Regions from separate parts of the Homo sapiens genome. Here all the other regions are linked to region 5. Evidence: promoter capture Hi-C in 16 types of primary human blood cells and fetal thymus (Javierre and others, 2016). All regions are on one chromosome and are shown on one strand. The core of a region is centred on a gene start or on the middle of the fragment in contact, and the rest is flanking DNA. Distances in the headings are between cores, read along the strand shown.

Region 1 (2,700 bases), core at 125-2,624, 1.6 Mb before region 5:
TATGAGCCTGGTGAAGTGCTGCAGTCTCCACTTCTGGTCAATGCTAGGAATGTAGTGGCGACACTGCATTTCTGAAACCAGATAAAAATAACAGAAACAAGAAGCTCTAGTAGAAATCGGGTTTGACAGCAGTCATTCCACATACCTGTCCATTATTTTTCACATTCCTTAGATTTCAGGCATTAAGATCGTAAATGCTCAATCCTTTAGAGAGCCAGTTAGCTTTGTGAAGGGAAGATATTTTAGTTAGCTTTGTGAAGGGAAGATATTTTAGTTAGCTTTGTGAAGGGAAGATATTTTAATTAGCTTTGTGAAGGGAAGATATTTGCGGCCTCCTGACTTATAAATCCATTTTTCTACTCATTGGGTAACTGTACCAAGCTTTCCCCAAAAAGCATACTATGTACAGCAGAAAAACAAACCAAATAGACTCTTATCAGACTTCTCAGAAAAGTCCCAAACCTTAGTGGCCTCAAAATTGAATTATTACAATGTTTGTGATCAGGGTCTCCCTTGATCCAGCAGTTGATAATTCAGGATGCAGTTGAACCGTAACCTAATTGGCATGCCATATAAAGGTTGTTATATCTGTGTTTGAAGACTAAACTTACTGTCATCTTGATCCAGGTGCAGTTCAACTCAATAACTTTGATCTTTCAACTCACTTAATTTTATAGACTAGTTTCTTCCTTGGTCCTACTTAAATATTGAAATAAACAAAGGACCCTTGGCTGCCAATATTACCTGGAAACCTTAGGATGTACTTTAATCAAAGTAAATGGCTTTGGAATCACGATTCTCAAACAGAAGTCTACATTTTCTGAGCATTCTCATGGCTCAGGGCAAAATTTTTCTGTCTCTTAGGTCCGCATAATTATTACAATATCAGAAAATGTTCACTTGGTGACTTACTTTAAAGTTACTTGAAAGATATAGGCAAATGAAAAGAGAAGAAAACGATGACAGCGATGGTTTCAAGATGATAAACTACTGTTTGGGTAGCATTAGCTTTGGCAGCCACAGGAATGTCATTTAGTGAATTAATTCACCTATTCAGTGCTGCCTTGAAAAGGAGCACAGTTTCCAGTATCCATTCTTCACCCCAGGAACATGTTCCTTACCCAGCAAGATGAGCTGCCCTGAGACAACCAACATCTTTTTGTATCTATAAAAGACTAGGTTGAACTATGATGTTGAGAATATTCTGTTCTACTTCAATATCTACCTGGATGTTTCAAAGACATAATGAACACTGAAGGATGCTTCTCATGTATATCCTACATATTTCCTATTGCAGTAAGCTGTGTCTCATTCATCCAAGTATCCCTTGTGCCTAATGCATTGTTTCATATATGTTTATGGAATGAATGAATGAATATAGATTTTGATGATATCGAAACTCCATGATATTATAACTCTTTATTCTGGAAATATTAACGGTGTTATTATAGTCATTTGCAGACTGGTAGAACAAGATGATCTAAAGTTAGTTTCCTGGCTTTTTTCTCAGTGGCTTCCTAACCCTTAAGTGCTTTTACATGCAATTGTTTGTGTGGATCTGTAAATGCAGAGTATGCATACATTCCTGTATTTGTTTTATAGCTTCCTACTCGAGAGATAAACTGTATTTTCTCTGTAAGATACAGAAAATTTTCATACTGGTGTTGTGTAGTGCCAAACACCATGTATTTTTTTTCCCTGCTGAATGGTATATTTTGAAATGTGTTTAAAAAGAAATACATCTATAAATATGCATAAGTGTAAACTTTCTAAAGTCTAGTTTTTGTGTCTATATTTGTTTCTTTGTAATTTATGTGTATGTATCATAATGTGCAATTCAATTAGAAATAAATAGTTGAGGAAATAAGAGAAATAAGAAAATAAGAGCAGTTGGGGGGAAAAAGATAACACTATCAAAGAGGCTGGAGCACAAACATATGTCATGAGGTACTACTAACTTGCTCCAAGCTCTTTAATAGGCAATGTATAAAGTGGAATTCAATCCTCCTACACTTTATAAGATAAAACTAGGTGATCAGGAGTGGCCTAGCTATTCCTGGCACTGAAGCCTGAAAGAAACTAGTCACATAGGTCCTCAAAGAGGAGACATTGTGCAATCTAGTTGATAATACCTTCAACAACATCCTCATAGATGATACAATGAGCTTCACAAGTCTGCTTCTGATAACGCCCCTCCTTTTAGGCTGGTGACATTGAACTTAATGTTAAAGCAATCCAACAGAGGACCAATTTGATGAGGTCTTAGGGAACAACTTTCTGACATCTAGCTTAATCTCAAGATAGATTTTTAAAGAGTCAGAGGCATGAGTGGACACCAGGACACTTCCATAAATTGTTTCTTCCAATTAAGCTTTGGGTAACTATTGGCTGACACTGAGTTCAAGGTGATACTGTTATTCATAAGGGGAATGACCTTGGGAGCCATGGACTCCTGAGATCTCGGGAAATGTTGTAAAGATAGAGATGAATCAGACTCAGGGATTCTAGAAAACTTGCTGTTGGATGTCCTCCAGGATCAAATATAACATGTGACTCAAATATAGCTCTATTTATGTAAAAAAAATTCAGTGTAGAAAAGAACAGTCAATATAGTATCCACTGAATAACTTTTAAACTTCTTTTTTTTGTTGTTTAGGAACATACACAAATCATAAGTAGATGCACTGAAAATTATAGGGG
Region 2 (2,700 bases), core at 187-2,686, 1.7 Mb before region 5:
AAGAGAGAAAAATACCCAATGCAACCTAGTCTTCTTTTTGAGTAAATACAATATACTTAGTTCAAGAGACAACGTGTATTTCAATCTCAAAGTCTGTTAGGGCCAAGACGCATTAGGGTTTGGAACAAGGAAGGAGATGAGAGTTTCCGAGCTGTGTAACTGCCAGGGGTGGTGTATATACATTTGAAGAGTAAGGTGGGACTACCCCAGGATGGGTGATCCATGGGTTACACCTAAGGTAAGAGTAAGTCAGGAATGCCTAGGCGGATGCAGAAATCAAATGGGATCTGAAAAGAATGCCTATTCACCCAAAAGTGAACAACCAGGGAGAATAAATGTCAACAAAGGGGTTGCTTCTGAGAGCTCTAGAGTCTAGAGGAACAGGTAGCCAAAAATGAGTTAAAGCTGATGGAAATGTAAATATAGCAAATTGTGTGACAGCGTGTTCATACGGAGGCCCAGACTGAATCTGAGGACAAAGAAGTCACTCAACTTTCTGTGCTCCTGACTTTGGACCTTAAAGTTTCTCTCTCCAACTTCTGACATGACAATGTTTATTTAGCGCCTACTCTATGCCTGGCATGGAGAATACACATTAGACTCAAGATGGGCTTGCCTCTCCTGAGCATTCACAGCTATGGACCCATCACGCTTCCTGTCTTTTCTGTCTCCCTACTGCTTCTTCCTATTTGACCACTCCCTTTTTTCTTTTTCATTGGCTTCTTTTTCCCATTTCTTTTCATTCTAAATTTTCTTTCTTGATATTTAATGTATTCCCAAAGATTAATCTATTATTCCCAAAGGGGATGACCATATCTCTAGGTACTTGAATATTTCTCAGAATTTCCTTTCATCACTTCACACATTATATATAAATTATTTAGTATATGGGGTATAAAGATGAGTATGATATACATTTATCCATTCATTTATTCTTTTATCCAGTGACTATGTATTGAGTGCTTAATAAGTGCCACATATTATTGGAGAAACTGGTGATACAGAGATCATGAAGATGAGTTTCTTTTCCTCATGGACTCACGGTCTAGGGGAAGAGTAAAACACATAAACATACAAAGGTTGCAGAGGCTTAAGTGAAGAACTGTGAAAGGCCAGCAAATACATAAGATTGTAAGATAAACACTTTGCAGCCTAACATCACTCCTGTCTTCATCTTATTTTCCCATAATTTGCCAACTTGAATATATTTAACTTTGCTAAATAGTGCGTATCTCTGTATGTGACATTATCTGCATTTATTTTTTGTCATGGTGTGTGTTATGAATAAATACAATAAACAGAAATCTATATTTAAGGAAGATGATTTTGAGATGGGCATTGAAGGATGAGTAGAAGTTCAAGTAGTAAGAAGAGAAAAAAAGGCAAAATACACAGTATATGCAAAGGCATATGAAATTAAAGAATTTGAGGTGTTCTGATAATGGTGGGTAGTTTTTTATGGAGGCCATAGGGTACTTGGAAATGAATGGCAAGAAAGTTCTTCTGGAAGAAAAAGAACTTCTGATCATACTAAGGAGATTGGACCCTATCCTGTAGTCAATGAACAAACATTGTAGTCAATGAAGTAGAGGAATGACATTTGGCCCTTTGATGGCAGAGTGAAAATGATAGATTGAAGTGGAGCAGGCCAAAAATTAGGCAACAACTGGAATGAGGGCCTGGACTAAGGTACTAGTGGCAGTGGTATAAATGAAGTGATCAGTTTGAACAATATCAAAGAGATAGAGTGACAAGACTTTAAGAATCTTTGGGTACAGGCAATAGGGGAGAGAGGAGAGGCAGGCTTTCATCTGGATGGTGGATGACATCCTCATTCCCACAGACATTGGATGCATGGGCCTTGGATATAACTTAGAATCTTGCGAGGCGATAAAAAGACCACCAGCGCGTGAGAAGTGAGTTAGCCACAGTTTACCTTCTATGGTTTGCAGTTTGCCATAGACTTCCATTCCTTTATTTGATACTCTATGAATGATGTCACAGACAATACATGATCAAGTGTCAAACATAGATGGTGGTATGCTATGACATCAAGAATTCTGGGCTCACCTTCTGGACTGACAATAACTGGAGGTGTGAATTTTGGTAACCACTTACTGTCTTTGGACTTCATTTTCTCATCTTTAAAGTTTGTTTCAGGTGGGGTAGGGTGAGTAGTACTCTAGGTGACATTTAAGTTTTTTTTGGATCTATTAACTTATGAGTAAATACTCATCTTTCTTCCCCAAGATAGTTTCTCCTTCTGACTAGATTGTTATTTCCTGGAAGGCAGGGACTGCTGTGTTCATCTCTGGATTCCAATACACCACGTAGGATCTGGGGGTAAAAGTGCAGAGTTAATGTTATTGAGCAAATGACTGAATGAAAGATTTTCCTATTTTATTAATGATACTATATAGCCCGTTCTCTCTGCTTCCTGTTATTAAAACCTTGGGGTATTCTGTACCCGCCTTCTTCTTGCATAACACCCTCACTCCCCCTTGGTCTTGCTTCCTTAATCAGGACATACTTTTTCCCTCTAAGTGTCTTTTAGATACGGCTTCCTTTTCCACCTCTAGACAGTCACCCAGATCTCTGCACTTCACCTTAAATTGAGACTACTGCAACAATATGTTTGCTTTCTGTCGTAATCTCCCTCTCTTAAGCCCACTTCATATACTACTACCATATTTAGCTTCC
Region 3 (2,881 bases), core at 211-2,710, 1.6 Mb before region 5:
GCATCTTCTATTCTGCCATTTTGCTCCTACTGTTTCTTCATAATGGGTACATGAAGCACATAAAACTTAAATAGAAACAACAACAATGGTTGATTATTTTGCCTTTGGAAAATACTATTTTGATGGGAAAAAATAGTTTCTTATTTACCATATGCTAATATTGGTCACATTAGCTCCAGGAAAGCAAGGTAATACGTTGAATATTCTGATATTATAGATGGGATAAAACAGACAAAAGGCTAAGAAATGAATGAAAACATACTAGTTATGTTGGTGGCTATAAATTTTTGTGCCGTTTTTGTTATACTGGAGAATTATTTTTAACTCTCTTATTTATACTATGTACCACCATTTTGTTCTTATAAAGCACAACTCAAAACTTCTTCAAAGCCTTACAACATGCCGCAGAATAATGTGTCACTATTGCGTTGCTTATGAATGTTGAACACCTTGCAAAGGTTTTTATTTTAGAGAAATATTAGTCTTCAATTTCACATACCTGAAGTTAAAATGAATCACCCAATTTATGTCTGTTTTGACCTTATGATATATGTTGAATATTCACTAAAAAATCTCACTGGAGTTAGGCACACTTGCTTTATACAAAGCAAAATAAGACACATCTAATGGAGCTGTGTGAGAGAGCCCCTTGTTGGTGGGTTCTTTGCTCTTGCAAAGCTTTGGTCAGCAAAACCAACCCATGTAGTAGACACCAACCAGAGAAACTATACCATAGCCTCCCTTTATAGCAGGAGTAGAAGAGAATGCATCTATATTTTCGGATTTGTTGTTGTTGTTGTTGTTCTGAGATGGAGTTTCACTCTTGTTGCCCAGGCTGGAGTGCAATGGCACGATCTCAGCTCACTGCAACCTCTGTTTCCCGGGTTCAAGCGATTCTCCTGCCTTAGCCTCCCAAGTAGCTGGAATTACAGGCGTGTGCCACCATGCCCAGCTAATTGTATTTTCAGTAGAGATGGGTTTCTTCCATCTTGGCCAGGCTGGTCTCGAACTCATGACCTCAGGTGGGCCGCCTGCCTCGGCCTCCCAAAGTGCTGGGATTACCAGCATGAGCCACCGAGCCCGGCCTTGCATCTATATTTTCAATGTCAGTTTTCCCCCATTCCTAAGTCTCCAACTAAAAAGCTAAATATATAACTAATATACTGGGATACCATATCATTTCTTTATTCAGGAGATGTTGGTATTGAGGACAGGACCAGAAGGAAATCACATAAAATCACTACTTCAAACTGGTCCTCTGAGGAAATCAAAATAGGACAATCCATTTCCATGGATTCCCAACTTCCAAAAGTATTCTAATTTTCCCAGACATGGCTTTCTTATTTAAATTAAAGGCTCAGTTTCCTGTCTTCTTTTCCTGCCTAACTCCAGAAAACTTCTAAGGGAGCAAAGTAATAGAGGGCTCCAATTATCTCTAGCACACTCTGGGAGCCTTTATAAGGGCAAAATACAATTCGTTCTACAGCAAAGCACCTCTAACACATGGTCTCTAAGAGAACTTTGATCATGTGCCTTCGATTTTTTTTTTTTTTTGCCTATCAGAAATATTCTATACTTCTTTTTTCCTGCAGAGTCAACACATAATATTAAACAGCCTGTCTGCAGTATCTAATTAACAAACTGACTGCAGATCACTTACAACATAAAATATTAAATCATCTAAAAAACTAATATTCTCCACACCTCATAAATTAAAATAACCAAGAGACTGAAATGAAATAAAACCCTGATGCATATCGTTCTGGGCCTTTGCCCCCCAAAGAGGCTCTATTCCTTGAAGCATTTAACCATTTCAAAGAAAAAAAATATATATGCACACACACAGAGAGACACGCACACATACATGTATATCAAGCAATTTCAAAATGCTTTCTAGCGCCAGTTTATACTTCATCACAGCAACTCTAACTTGAGACCTCAGCCTGTACTTCTCTTGATCTTTTGCTTCACAAATCATTTTAAGTTCAGATATGGAGCTCATCAGTTATGTGTCTTTTCATTATAATTGCAATGCAGTCTTGGAGCTCAGTTCTGTTCCCATTGGCTCAATGGTCATCATTTATCTGCTTTGTATATTTAGGACATTATTTAACAGAAGCAGCAATCTGTTTGAAGAATTCAAGGGCCATTTGATATTAACACAGAGAATGATTAATCAAAGAGCATTTGGTCCTAAAGTATCAAGAGGAGCTGAGGTCATTAGCAGGGCAAAACCAGGAAGCAAGCTTTGACTAAGAAAATGAGATGGGCCAATACTTTGAGGATTTAAAATATAAATAAATAAGAAGGTTATGGTCATTCATTTCTGGAGCTTTTACTTTAAAGGATGACTGCTTTAAGAGATCTGAAAAAATATTACATTATTTCTTAAGATAGAGATTATTTTCTTTACAGTGAAATATGAAACTTTGCATCCAGATAATAGCTGAACCCATCAGTGTCTCTAGTAATAATTATTTCTTAATACTGGAATATTTCAATTATTACATATTGTAAATGAGAAATATCAACAGATGCAGAGCTGAGCATTGGATATGAGACAGAGCTGGACTAATTAAAACTGTTACCCTAGTGAGACTTCTCTGGCGCTCCAAGGTAAGGCCTTCTCTGCCAAAGAGACAGCGGTTTAATGTAATTATCCATTCCAAATTAGTTCAATTTTCTACATTTTTTTGTCAGTCATATCCATCAAGCATTTGCCCCATTGTATATTAGGGAAAATGGGAATGAACACCCCAAGAACAGTAAGAAAAAGCAATTATCTTAAATAGAAAAAAAAATTATCTTAAAAATTATCCAAATGTATCCTGAATTTGTATCCTATATTTGTTTTTACTGCTGCTGTGATGAATTGCCACAA
Region 4 (2,882 bases), core at 3-2,502, 1.8 Mb before region 5:
ACAGGCGCCCACCATCACACCCGGCTAATTTTTTGTATTTTTAGTAGAGACGGGGTTTCACCGTGTTAGCCAGGATGATCTCGATCTCCTGACCTCGTGATCCGCCTGCCTTGGCCTCCCAAAGTGTTGGGATTGCAGGCGTGAGCCACCGCGCCCGGCCTATGTAATAGTTTTTAAGAGCTTTCATATACATTACCTTTTGGTCCTCACAAGGATCCTCTGTGATTACAAATGAGTGAACTTTCGCTCAGAGAGGTTAGGCATCTTTCTCAAGACCACACAGTTGGTAAGTGACAGAGTCAGGTCTAAAACAAAGGTCTTTGAATTTTATGTGCATATATATATATATGTATGTATGTACTGCCAATTGAGTGTCATCCTTTAAAGCAGAAGTTAAAAATGAATAGTCCATGGGCCAAACTGGATCTTTAGATATGTTTTGTTTGCTTCCTATAATGTTGGCTCATGGTGTATTTTAAACTTTTTGAATAAGCTCCAAAATTTAAAAATGGGGATGTTTCCCACAAAGACTAGAATTTCATGTGTCTTTGGAAAAAATCAGAAGAGATGGTTACACTGGATTCATATTCCCTAGCGGCAATGTACAGCTGAAGCTGTGTGTGTGTGTGTGTGTGTGTGTGTGTGTATGTGTGTGATTCTAGCTGGTTATAAACTGTAGAGAAGCAACGTGGCATGGTTTGGCTGTGCCCCACGCAAATCTCATCTTGAACTGTAATCTCCTTAATCCCATGGGTCATAGGAGGGACCAAGTGGGAGATAATTGAATCGTGGGGGCAGTTTCCCTTATGCTGTTCTCACGATAGTGAGTGAATTCTCATGAGATCTGATGGTCTTATAAGCCCACCTCATGGATATGAGACATGGAATCAAAGGAGATCATTTCAGAACTTTAAGGTTTAGTGACTGCCCTATTGGATTTCGGACTTGCATGGGGCCTGTAGCCCCTTCATTTTGGCCAATTTCTCCCATTTGGAATGCGTGTATTTACCCAATGCATGTACCTCCTGTATTCGTCTGTTCTCACATTGCTACTAAAGACATTCCTGAGACTGCGTAATTTATAAAGGAAAGAGGTTTAATGGACTCACAGTTCCACATGGCTGGGAAGGCCTCACAATCGTGGCGGAAGGCAAAGGAGAAGTGAAGGCATGTCTTACATGGTGGCAGGAGGGCTTGTGCAGGGGAACTCCTATTTATAAAACCATCAGATCTCATGAGACTTATTCACTACCATGAGAACAGTATGGGGGAAACCACCCCCACAATTCAGTTATCTCCACCTGGCCCTGCCCTTGACACATGGGAATTATTACAATTCAAGGTGAGATTTGGGTGGGTACACAGCCAAACCATACCACTCCCATTGTATGTAGGAAGTAAGTAACTTGCTTTTGACTTTACAGGCTCATAGGTGGAAGGGACTTGCCTTGTTTCAGATGCGACTTTGGACTTGGACTTTTGGGTTAATGCTGGAATGAGCTAAGACTTTGGGGGACTGTTGGGAAGACATGATGGTGTTTTGAAATGTAAGGACATGAGATTTGGGAGGGGCCAGGGGCAGGTTTGGCTGTATGGTTTGGCTGTATCCCCACCCAAATCTCATCTTGAATTGTAATCCCCAGAATCCCCATGTGTCATGGGAAAGACGTGATGGGAGGTAATTGAATCATGAGGGTGGTTTCCCCCACGTTGTTCTCATGATAGTGAGTGAGTTCTCATGAGATCTGATGGTTTTATAAGCATCTGGCATTTCCCTTGCTGGCACTCATTCTCTCTGCTGCTGCCCTATGAAGAGGTGCCTTCTGCCATGAGTGTAAGTTTCCTTAGACCTCCCAAGCCATGCGGAACTGTGTGTCAAGTAAATGTCTTATCTTTGTAAATTACTCAGTCTCAGGTATTTCTTCATAGCAGTGTGAGAACAGATGAATACAGAACTGTAGAATGGTAACTCAGGAGCCAAAGACAGAACTAAGGGAGCCTGAACTCTGCAGAGGCTGGAAGGAATGGGATCCAGAGAGGTGCCTTACTTATGTTTTGAGGAATATACTATCATTGGAATGAAGGCCAACATGAATAAGTGGCAGTATATTTGTTAAAAATATCAATCATACCATTTGGCAGTCACATCTCATGCTGATTTTTTTCACCCCTCATGGAAATATATAATCAGTTTTCTGGGCTTTATGGATTAATTAATAACTTTAAATGAGAAAATATTTGGCTGTCAAAATGGAATATACTTTTGTTTTATGATTAGAGATGGGCAAGTGATGAGAGATGAATCAGGATGATGAATTATATATTTATTCAATTAATTTCAATGTGAAATACAAACATGTTTTGATAATTTTCTGCTCTCACATTATGATTCAGAGTGAAAAATTGTCATTGGTGAGCATTCCCAAGGTCATATGGTTCCTCCAAAAGTCAAGGATTCTTCAAACACTTGTTCATTCAATAAATAGTTGTGGAGCATTGCAAACATACTTGCAAAGAAGGCATCTTTAGGCTGAGGCGGGCAGATCACAAGGTCAAGAGATCGAGACTATCCTGGCCAACATGGTGAAACCCCGTCTCTACTAAAAATACAGAAATTAGCTGGGCATGATGGCATGCACCTGTAGCCCCAGCTACTCGGGAGGCTGAGGCAGGAGAATCGCTTGAACTCGGGAGGTGGAGGTTGCAGCGAGCTGAGAGGTTGCCACCGCAGTCCAGCGTGGTGACAGAGTGAGACTCCGTCTCAAACAAACAGTAACAAAAAAACCCGAAGACATCTTCAGTTCTTGTTCTGATGTTTCTCACAGTTTAGTAGAAGCTGTTGGAAAGCAAACAGGCCATTACAGTGGTATAATTGTTACAAT
Region 5 (2,724 bases), core at 89-2,588:
CAAACACTAAAAGTGATAAAGCTAATGGGCAAGTCCAGATAAGGAGGGAAACCACCCAGAAGAATCCACAAGTACAAGCCAAGAAGAAAATGGGTAGTCAGGTGTGTGTTTCTCGTCACCGAAACTGTATTTTTCTTAATCTACAGAAAATTTTACTTTCTTAATTTAAAAAAAATCTTAATCTGTAAATATTTTTCTGAATTTTCTTATTTTTCATATACCTCTTTTGTGGCAGAAAAGGTGTACATGTGCAGGGTGTAATTTAGGCTGTTTCTGTTGCAGTCTTTATGATAATGTAGTAATAGGTGTCTGGTGAAGCAAGACAGTTTGGAATCCACAAAGCCATCCTCAGAAACAAAGATACAAGTGTTTCCCCAACTGTTAGCTTGCAGTTCCCTCTAAACAGTTTTCACGCCTCCATTTAAAAATAGTTGGCATAATGATGTTTTCTTTCTCTAGGCTTTGTGACCACGTTTCCATGGGGGAAAATGTGAATAGACGTAGTTACAGTAGCATTTGGATGAGACGCCTTCAAGCACCTATACTTTTTCGGGGGAACTTGATGGAATCCAATTTAATTACCTGAAGAAATTATTTGCTGAAGAAAGTCTTTCCTCTTTTTAGGGTAGTTACAGTTAAAGGCGCAGGGGTAACGAAATCCTAACCCAGAGAGGAGCAGAGCATGTTTGGGACATAACAAAGGATCTGAGTAGTAAACGCAGCGAGTGTTTGGGGTTTTATTCAGACCGGGCTGACGGTGTGTGTCGCCGCCACGCACCGCTGCCTGTTCGAACGCATGGCTGAGCTGCCGACCGGCTCGCTACCCCAAACACCGTACGCCACCCAACTCCTCTTGTAACGCCATCGCGCGTGGCATTGTGTTGGGTTCTGCGTGTGTGGCATCGGAGTCGTGGAATTTAGGGGGAACAAGGCTTTTCCCCCCGTCCCCCCGGGGTCTCCCTTGGGTGGGGGCGACACGGCCAAGGCGGCGCGCCCTGGGGGTGCCCGGGGGCGCTTCTTCCCCAGGGCGTTACGCACCGGCGGCCCGGCGCGGAGGTGCGCGGGGGCGATCGGGAGATGCGGGGCGGGCGAGGGGTGGTGGGATGGGCGCCGCCTTAACTTCGATCCTGCGGCGGCCCGAGAGAAGCCGTCGCCGCCCCGCCCGAGCTGGGTGCCGCGGCACTCTGCTCTGCGCCGCGCGTCTCCGCGGCTGCCTCTTTAATCAGGAACACAGAAGGGGCGGGCCCTGAGCCGGCGCGTAATCGGATAGCTCTGCCGCGGCTCTGACATCCACATGCTGCTCGGCCTGAAAAGGCAGTGGGGAGCCGGAGGGGAGGCAGAGATCGCGAGCGAGGCACCAGCCTGCAGCCGGCCCCCAGCACATCCTCAGCCGCACAGACACTCGGCGAGGTGGAGGTGAGGGCGGGCGCCAGCGAACTCGGAGAGGGGCTCGCTCACTCCCAGGCGATCCCAGCCGCCACCGCCGCCGCACCAGCAGCAGCAACAGCAGCAGCAGCTTCCTTCCTCAGACTCCCCTCGAGAGGCTGGCCAAGCGGGTGTAGCCGTTGGGGGAGGCTCCCGCCGGGGGAACCCGGCGAGGACAAGAGCAGGGCGGCCGCCTTCCACTCGGGCTGTCCGGCGGCGGCTGCCTCCGCCCGTGTGTCCGTCAAGGGTGCCGCGGGATGTGTGTCAGTTTACGCCTCTGAGATCACACAGCTGCCTGGGGGCCGTGTGATGCCCAAGGCAAGTCTTGGTTTTAATTATTATTATTATCATTATTGTTACGCTTGGCTTTCGGGAAATACTCGTGATATTTGTAGGATAAAGGAAATGACACTTTGAGGAACTGGAGAGAACATATATGCGTTTTGTTTTTAAGAGGAAAACCGTGTTCTCTTCCCGGCTTGTTCCCTCTTTGCTGATTTCAGGAGCTACTCTCCTCCTGGTGAGGTGGAAATTCCAGCAAGAATAGAGGTGAAGACAAGCCACCAGGACTCAGGAGGGAAACGCTGACCATTAGAAACCTCTGCATAAGACGTTGTAAGGAGGAAAATAAAAGAGAGAAAAACACAAAGATTTAAACAAGAAACCTACGAACCCAGCTCTGGAAAGAGCCACCTTCTCCAAAATGGATATGTTTCCTCTCACCTGGGTTTTCTTAGCCCTCTACTTTTCAAGACACCAAGTGAGAGGCCAACCAGGTAAGCCACTGAAAGTTTTTCTATTTATTGCAACATGGTTTCCCCTTTAAAAGTGACCGCTAAAGCAGGAAGGCCACGCAGAACGGCACAGAAGAAGGCTCCCTCAGTACTCAATAATTTAAAGAGAGATCCCAGCCGGCCCTTCCTACACCACCACGGCTGCTAAAACCCAACTTTCCTCTCCTGCTAGGAGTGTGTGTGTGTGTGTGTGTGTGTGTGTGTGAGTGTGTTTTGAAACAGAATTTGGCGGTGTTCATATGTCACATATGGACTGAATCAAAGGTTTAAAAATACTACAAAGCCTTTGCATTACAGTTTTTGGGAATTTTTTTTCCCTGTCTTGAAGCAGAACACATCTCCCTTGAGTTTCTCCAACTAGCCAGTGAAATATAAATCATTTGCATTCCCTCCACTTAGCTACATTGAGCAATGTTAACTGAAGGGCTTGGGAAAGACAAGAGTTTAGTTTTGGTTTTCAGATGCTGTAGATTCTTTGGAGAATGACTGGTTATGCTTCAGAATC
Region 6 (2,753 bases), core at 224-2,723, 1.6 Mb before region 5:
GCCAAATTTAAATTTTATCGATCCAAACTTTTGCTGTTGAAGCAATGCTCTGGCTAGAGGACTTGATTTCAATGACAGTCGATTATGACAATAGCCTCAGCCTGCCTCTCACACACTCCCTGCCAGACCTCCCCATCACATACAACTTTTTCTTTACTTTCTTTTTTTTTTTTTTTAAATTTTACTTTAAGTTCTGGGATACATGTGCAGAATGTGCAGGTGTGTTACATAGGTATACATGTGCCATGGTGGTTTGCTGCTCCCATCAACCCATCATCTAGGTTTTAAGCTTCGCATCATTAGGTATTTGTCCTAATGCTCTCCCTCCCCTTGCCCCCCCACCCCCCAACAGGCCCCTCCCTATATCCATATGTTCTCATTGTTCAACTCCCACTTATGAGTGAGAACATGAGGTGTTTGTTTTTCTGTTCCTACACATACACCTTTTTCTAAGAAGGTCATGGGGAGCAAGGAGGCTCACCAGCTGGAAAATAACATTAAAACAGGAACCATGTGGAAATATCCAGATGAGTGATGAACCTAAGAAATCTGTTTTGAAATGTGAAGATAGAATTTACTCTAGTAGTAACTGATGGGAGAAATTGACATCATTTCTGAAAACTTCACAAATTCCAAGAGCTCAGTTGACTCAGGAAGCCTGGTGGAGCTAAGTCTAGAAGTAAGGGTATGAAAACCTAAGAAAGAAAACTGTTCTTTTCTAAAAATTTTCTCATAAGTATAGCAAAGTCTATTAGACTAATTTTTTAAAAAGTGGCAAAATTCACGTGACTGGTCCTCATCTTGGTTCCAAGCTTGCCAGCCACGGAACTCTGTGCTACTGCTTTCTACCCTGTAAAATAGTGGTGACACTAATAGTACCTACTCCATAAGCTTGCCAAGAGGACTCCATGGGGCAATACACATGAACCACTGAGCACAGTGCCTAGCTCATAGTAAGCACTCTATAAATGTTAGCTATTACAGTATTTCAATCTGGGACACATGAAACCTTGTAAGGCCTGAAACCTAAAATTCAACGCATAAGGTGATGGTTGCACAACTCTGTGAATATATGGAAAACCATTGAAAGTATTCGTTCTAAATGGGTGGAATTGTATGGTATGTGAATTATATCTTAATAAACATGTTACAGGGGAAAAAAGCAGAGAAAGAGCTTTTCCTATTTCCTTCCTTCCTTCCTTCCTTCTTCCCTTTCTTCCTTGCCATCTCTTTCTTTCTCTTTCTTTCCTTCCTTCCTTCCTTCCCTCTTTCTTTCTTCCTTCCCTTCTTTCTTTCTTTCTTTCTTTCTTTCTTTCTTTCTTTCTTTCTTTCTTTCTTTCTTTCTTTCTTTCCTTCCTTCCTTCCTTCCTTTCTTTCCTTCCTTCCTTCTTCCTTCCTTCCTTCCTTCCTTCCTTCTTTCTTTCTTTTTGACAGAGTTTCCCTGTGTCATCCCGGCTGGAGTGCAGTGGTGCCATCTTGGCTCACTGCAACCTCCTCTTCTTGGGCTCAAGTGATTCTCGTGCCTCAGCCTCCAGAGTAGCTGGAACTACAGGTGTGCCTCACCACACCTGGTTAATTTTTTTGTATCTTTAGTAGAGATTGGGTTTTGCCATGTTGGCCAGGCTGGTCTGGAGCTCTTGGCCTCAAGTGATCCACCTGCCTCAGCCTCCCCAAATGCTGGGATTACAGCCGTGAGCCACCAGGCATGGCCAGTTTTTCCTTTTTCTGATAAGAATTTTCTTCTTTGTCTGATATGAATGTAGTACAATATGAATGACAGAGTTCTATTTCTTTACAGAGCAAATGTAGTTTTCCTAAATCTGAACTTTAGTGTTTCCTTCAGGTGTGAGGGATACCCCAGATTGAAATATTTTGAACAACTAGGGTTTGAATTTGTGGAAATGAACAAATAAAGAAAGAATGGAATTGCAGAAATAAATAAGAGGGAGAGAGAGAAGAAGAGAGAGAGAATAGTCTATTAATTTGTAGCTTGCTATACAGCAAGGGACCATCACTTGCATTTTGGTAGAGACTCACAGGCAGTCAGGGGAATGGAAAAGCTTTACAGTGAAAAAAGGGGCTTTAGGTATTGATGGAATTCAGGACATGCTACCCCAAAATATGGCACCTTGGCATTTGAGGGAACAGCAGAAGGAGGTCATGGAACGTAGGAGGGCCACTCTCACCTTCCTTTCATCCTTCTCCTGTGAAGCAAGTCATAGGACCCTAATTCAAGAGGGATCCTCCCCATACCTGGAAGAAAGAAACTTCCTTATCTCTGAAGACACAGGGACACAGAGAAGAACCTGAACAAACAGGCCTTGCTAAGTCCCCCGACTCACCCCCTGCAGTGTATTACCATTAGAACAAACCCCTTTGTCCAATCATGCTTCTCTGTGACTATTCAACTCTTCATCAAACCTAAGCATAAAAATACACATTTATTTGTTTCTTTGGGTTTTTATCTCTTTGTGAAGACTTTTGTGTCATATAAAACTTATATTAAATGAACTTGTATGGTTTTCTGTCTTTAATCTGTCTTTTGTTAAAAGAATTTCAGCCATGAACCTAGCAATTTGGAGGAAAAGATATTTATTTCCCCTGGGGCAGGGGTCCTCAATCCCTGGACCACAGATAGGTGGTAGTCTGTGGCCTGTTAGGAATTGGGCCGCACAACAGGAAGTGAGCAGCGGGCGAGCAAGAGTGAGCAAAGCTTCACTGTATTTAAAGTTGCTCCCCATGGCTTGCATTAC
Region 7 (2,967 bases), core at 67-2,566, 1.6 Mb before region 5:
GTTTCTTCTCCGTGACTGGGCCAAAAATAAAAAAAAAGAAACACGTGGTCACAATTCAACTGCAGTTTTCCTTGGCAAAATATAAACAGGCCCAAATGAGAAGTCTCCTGTAGTGCTGCCTGAAACGGCCCTGGCCCTATTTCATGAGTCCAAAATCAGCGACACATTGATGAGGATGGGGGAGGAAAGAGTGAGCACAGCAGAGAAAGGAAACTTTAAAATACACAAGTGAAGGCACAGCACATACAACTTCCATGTCTGTCTGGCCCTTTTTGGTTAATTATTGCTTATTTCAGGCCATGACTGTTTGTACAATGGTGACCTAGTTTATCCAGATTGGCTTTATCCTTTACAGAAATAACTAAAAATTTGTCAGTATCAAATGTAAAGCAGTCAAAAAGAGGCACCCAGTGTCTACAGATATTAAGTGGAGCCAAGCAACTAAGTCATAACCTTAGACACTTTACAATGTTCTCCCAGATAAAGCAGATTTTAAGCACCATAACTGAGATTGCTCCTCATTTTAACTATATTGTCTTTTGACAACATGAACACATTAACTATTGTTCAAAAAGATTTTTATACATCACTACACAATTCAGCCAGCACTTAGATTGAATTCTATTTAATCCAAGAATTCCTGACCATAATGCAGAGAGTTTGGGCAGCTTCTCTTTTACTCTTACCTAAGGTATTTTATTAAATGCTTATGGTTTCCGTGAAACTTATGTTCATAACTGAACAGAAAGCAGCCAAGACAAGCAAGAATAGCTTCTCAATGGACATTCTTTTTCCTGGCATCTCATATCCATTTGGGTGGGAGTTCAACAACAGGCTAGCAAGTTTTTCTCTTTGGGCCCGTACCAGAGGCCTGATCTCATCTGATTGTTCAGTGCTAGCATGGTGAGGTTGGGAATTATAATTGAGAACCTACTGACAATCAGGTTATTGTTTGATCTAAGCTGAGATGGTAATAGAAAGGTCAAAGTTGTTGGAAGGGGTGCAGGTATCATTTGGTCTAGCCCTCAATTCTTTCCAGTCTCTCTTCCATACCTCTATTTATAGGAAATGCACTTTTCCGTGAGGAAGCCCATTCTAGTTTTGGCCACTTCTAATTGTGATAAAGTTGTTCTTTAAAATAAGTGAAACAGGAAATTTTCCGTGACCCCTTGGGGCACCTCGCTTACTCAGCCTGCTGCAGTTAACCCCTCACGGGAGGGGGAGCACTCAGGTGAGTGGGTGCAGGAGCCAGGACAAGTGTTTCTGGGCACTGGCAGGAGCAGAACTCTGTGCAGCCTCACAGCAGCTTCTGGAGCCCCAGAGGGCATACGTTACAGTGCTCTTTTAGCTTTGCCATCCATGGATAGCTTAAGTGTTAAACAACTCAACTGCCCACATCCGTGGCTCCCAAGCTCTTGTTTGGTGTCCAAGAAGAATCAGGTCACATGAACGAATTGGAGAGTAGTGAATACAGAGGATTTTATTGCTGATGAAAGTGGCTTTCAGTGGGAAGGGGAGCTGGAAAGGGGGTGGAGCAGGCAGGTGGTCTTCCCCTGGAGTCTGGCCATCCCTGACCAGGCTCTTCTCCAAAGTCCCACCGTCAAGCCATCCTTCTGAAGTCAAGCTGCTTCTCTCTGACGTCTGGCTGCTTCTCTTCTCTCCTTCTCTGCTGCTCCTCTGCCAGTGGAGCCTGGGGTTTTTATGGGTATGGGATGGGGGACGGGGTGGGCCAGGGTGGTTTTGGAAAAGGCAACATTTGAGTGGGAAAATGGGGATGTTCTCACTTTGGGCCACGGTTCTAGGCTTGAGGGTGGGGCTTCACCAGGGACCCCTTCCTTTTCTGCCTAGAATTTCTCTGCCTCCTGTTCCCATCATAAGGAGATACTGGCTTCTTATGTAACTTTGAACCACTGGTCCTGGTCTGCCCCCTAGAACCAAAAAACACAAGTTCAATCCCTGTTCTATCTTATAGATATTATGTATTAAAATCCAGCTATCTTTAACTTATGAATTTATTCAGTTTGCAGCTTATAGTGTCTATAGTGTCTTATTCAAAGTTGAATAGACCTGTATCTTCCCATAAGGAGTCTTCAGTCCATTTGTGTTCATGTCTCTTCTTCAATCTAAAATCTCTCAGTTCTCTCAACTTTTTACAAAACACAGAAACTTCTGTAATTTGGTTCTCCTCCTCTAGACTTCACAAGGAAAATATTATTACTAATGATAGTTATTGAGGATCCACTGCAAATTTGGTCCTGGACTGGGTTCTATAATAATCCTAACTATTCTGCAAGGTTAGTATTAGGTGAGTATTAGTCCTAACTATCCTGCAAGGCCTGTATTAGCCACGAGGAACTGCGTGGCTCATAAAGTAAGTGATCTTGGTTCACACAGCTAGTATGCGCTAGGTGGGCTATCTGAACAAACGTTGACCCCCAAACCTCCAGTTTGAGACTGTGTGTGTGTGTGTATGTGTGTGTGTGTGTTTAAGGGGTAGCAACTGGAATTGAAGATAGTGCATTGTCTCTACCTTGTTCATAGTAGAGAAGACCATCTCCCTTATATATGAAAGCAAATAGCTCTTAGTGGTAACACTTTCTTTTGGGTACTTCACTACATCACATAAAATATAGTAAAGTACATTGATATCCCACATGAAATGTATTTCTTATCATAAAATTTTTGAAAGGATTTTAAAACAATCTTTTGAAAAAAATTTTATCAAGAGTGACTCAGTTAATTTATGATTGGCAATGATTTCTTGGCAGGCATCGTGCATACTCAGAAATTCTTATAAAATGAGAAAATCTAACCTACAAATTGTTTTCAAATGTAATGAAATTTTTATGAACACTAAATATAACAAATAATGAAGTTGACATCATGTTACATTTTGTAGATGTTTAATTAAACATTAATTTCAATCTATCAGTTTTATATTTTAGAAACGGTAAATCTTTTGAGGTC

What was found. Contacts are between HindIII fragments. The CHiCAGO score rates a contact against its expected background, and 5 or more counts as called.
Region 1: a contact is called between a fragment that was not itself captured here and the fragment with the promoter of NRP2 in region 5, in 3 of 17 cell types (M2 macrophages, M0 macrophages and M1 macrophages). The highest score is 12.7, in M2 macrophages.
Region 2: a contact is called between a fragment that was not itself captured here and the fragment with the promoter of NRP2 in region 5, in 2 of 17 cell types (M1 macrophages and M2 macrophages). The highest score is 9.3, in M1 macrophages.
Region 3: a fragment that was not itself captured here is called in contact with the fragment with the promoter of NRP2 in region 5 in 1 of 17 cell types (M2 macrophages); the score reaches 8.4 in M2 macrophages.
Region 4: a contact is called between a fragment that was not itself captured here and the fragment with the promoter of NRP2 in region 5, in 1 of 17 cell types (M2 macrophages). The highest score is 8.0, in M2 macrophages.
Region 6: a fragment that was not itself captured here is called in contact with the fragment with the promoter of NRP2 in region 5 in 2 of 17 cell types (M2 macrophages and M0 macrophages); the score reaches 9.7 in M2 macrophages.
Region 7: a contact is called between a fragment that was not itself captured here and the fragment with the promoter of NRP2 in region 5, in 2 of 17 cell types (M2 macrophages and naive CD8 T cells). The highest score is 8.4, in M2 macrophages.

The regions. Positions count from the first base shown.
Region 1 is chr2:204,078,462-204,081,161 of GRCh38, forward strand. No RefSeq gene overlaps it. Among named protein-coding and RNA genes, the nearest start is that of ICOS, 140 kb to the left of the region's middle. The HindIII fragment of the contact is 1,990 bases long and covers 380-2,369 here.
Region 2 is chr2:203,990,493-203,993,192 of GRCh38, forward strand. No RefSeq gene overlaps it. Among named protein-coding and RNA genes, the nearest start is that of ICOS, 55 kb to the left of the region's middle. The HindIII fragment of the contact is 3,745 bases long and covers 1-2,700 here.
Region 3 is chr2:204,099,061-204,101,941 of GRCh38, forward strand. No RefSeq gene overlaps it. Among named protein-coding and RNA genes, the nearest start is that of ICOS, 160 kb to the left of the region's middle. The HindIII fragment of the contact is 1,568 bases long and covers 677-2,244 here.
Region 4 is chr2:203,929,662-203,932,543 of GRCh38, forward strand. It overlaps LOC101927840 (a long non-coding RNA gene), which reads right to left. Exons shown (of 4, transcript XR_427213.4): 4 at 2,656-2,836. Among named protein-coding and RNA genes, the nearest start is that of ICOS, 5.7 kb to the right of the region's middle. The HindIII fragment of the contact is 4,218 bases long and covers 1-2,882 here.
Region 5 is chr2:205,681,163-205,683,886 of GRCh38, forward strand. NRP2 (neuropilin 2) reads left to right here and starts at 1,339. Exons shown (of 17, transcript NM_003872.3): 1 at 1,339-2,201. The coding sequence starts at 2,129. RefSeq lists a silencer at 740-859. The HindIII fragment of the contact is 6,030 bases long and covers 1-2,724 here.
Region 6 is chr2:204,061,566-204,064,318 of GRCh38, forward strand. No RefSeq gene overlaps it. Among named protein-coding and RNA genes, the nearest start is that of ICOS, 130 kb to the left of the region's middle. The HindIII fragment of the contact is 1,169 bases long and covers 890-2,058 here.
Region 7 is chr2:204,116,325-204,119,291 of GRCh38, forward strand. No RefSeq gene overlaps it. Among named protein-coding and RNA genes, the nearest start is that of ICOS, 180 kb to the left of the region's middle. The HindIII fragment of the contact is 9,583 bases long and covers 1-2,967 here.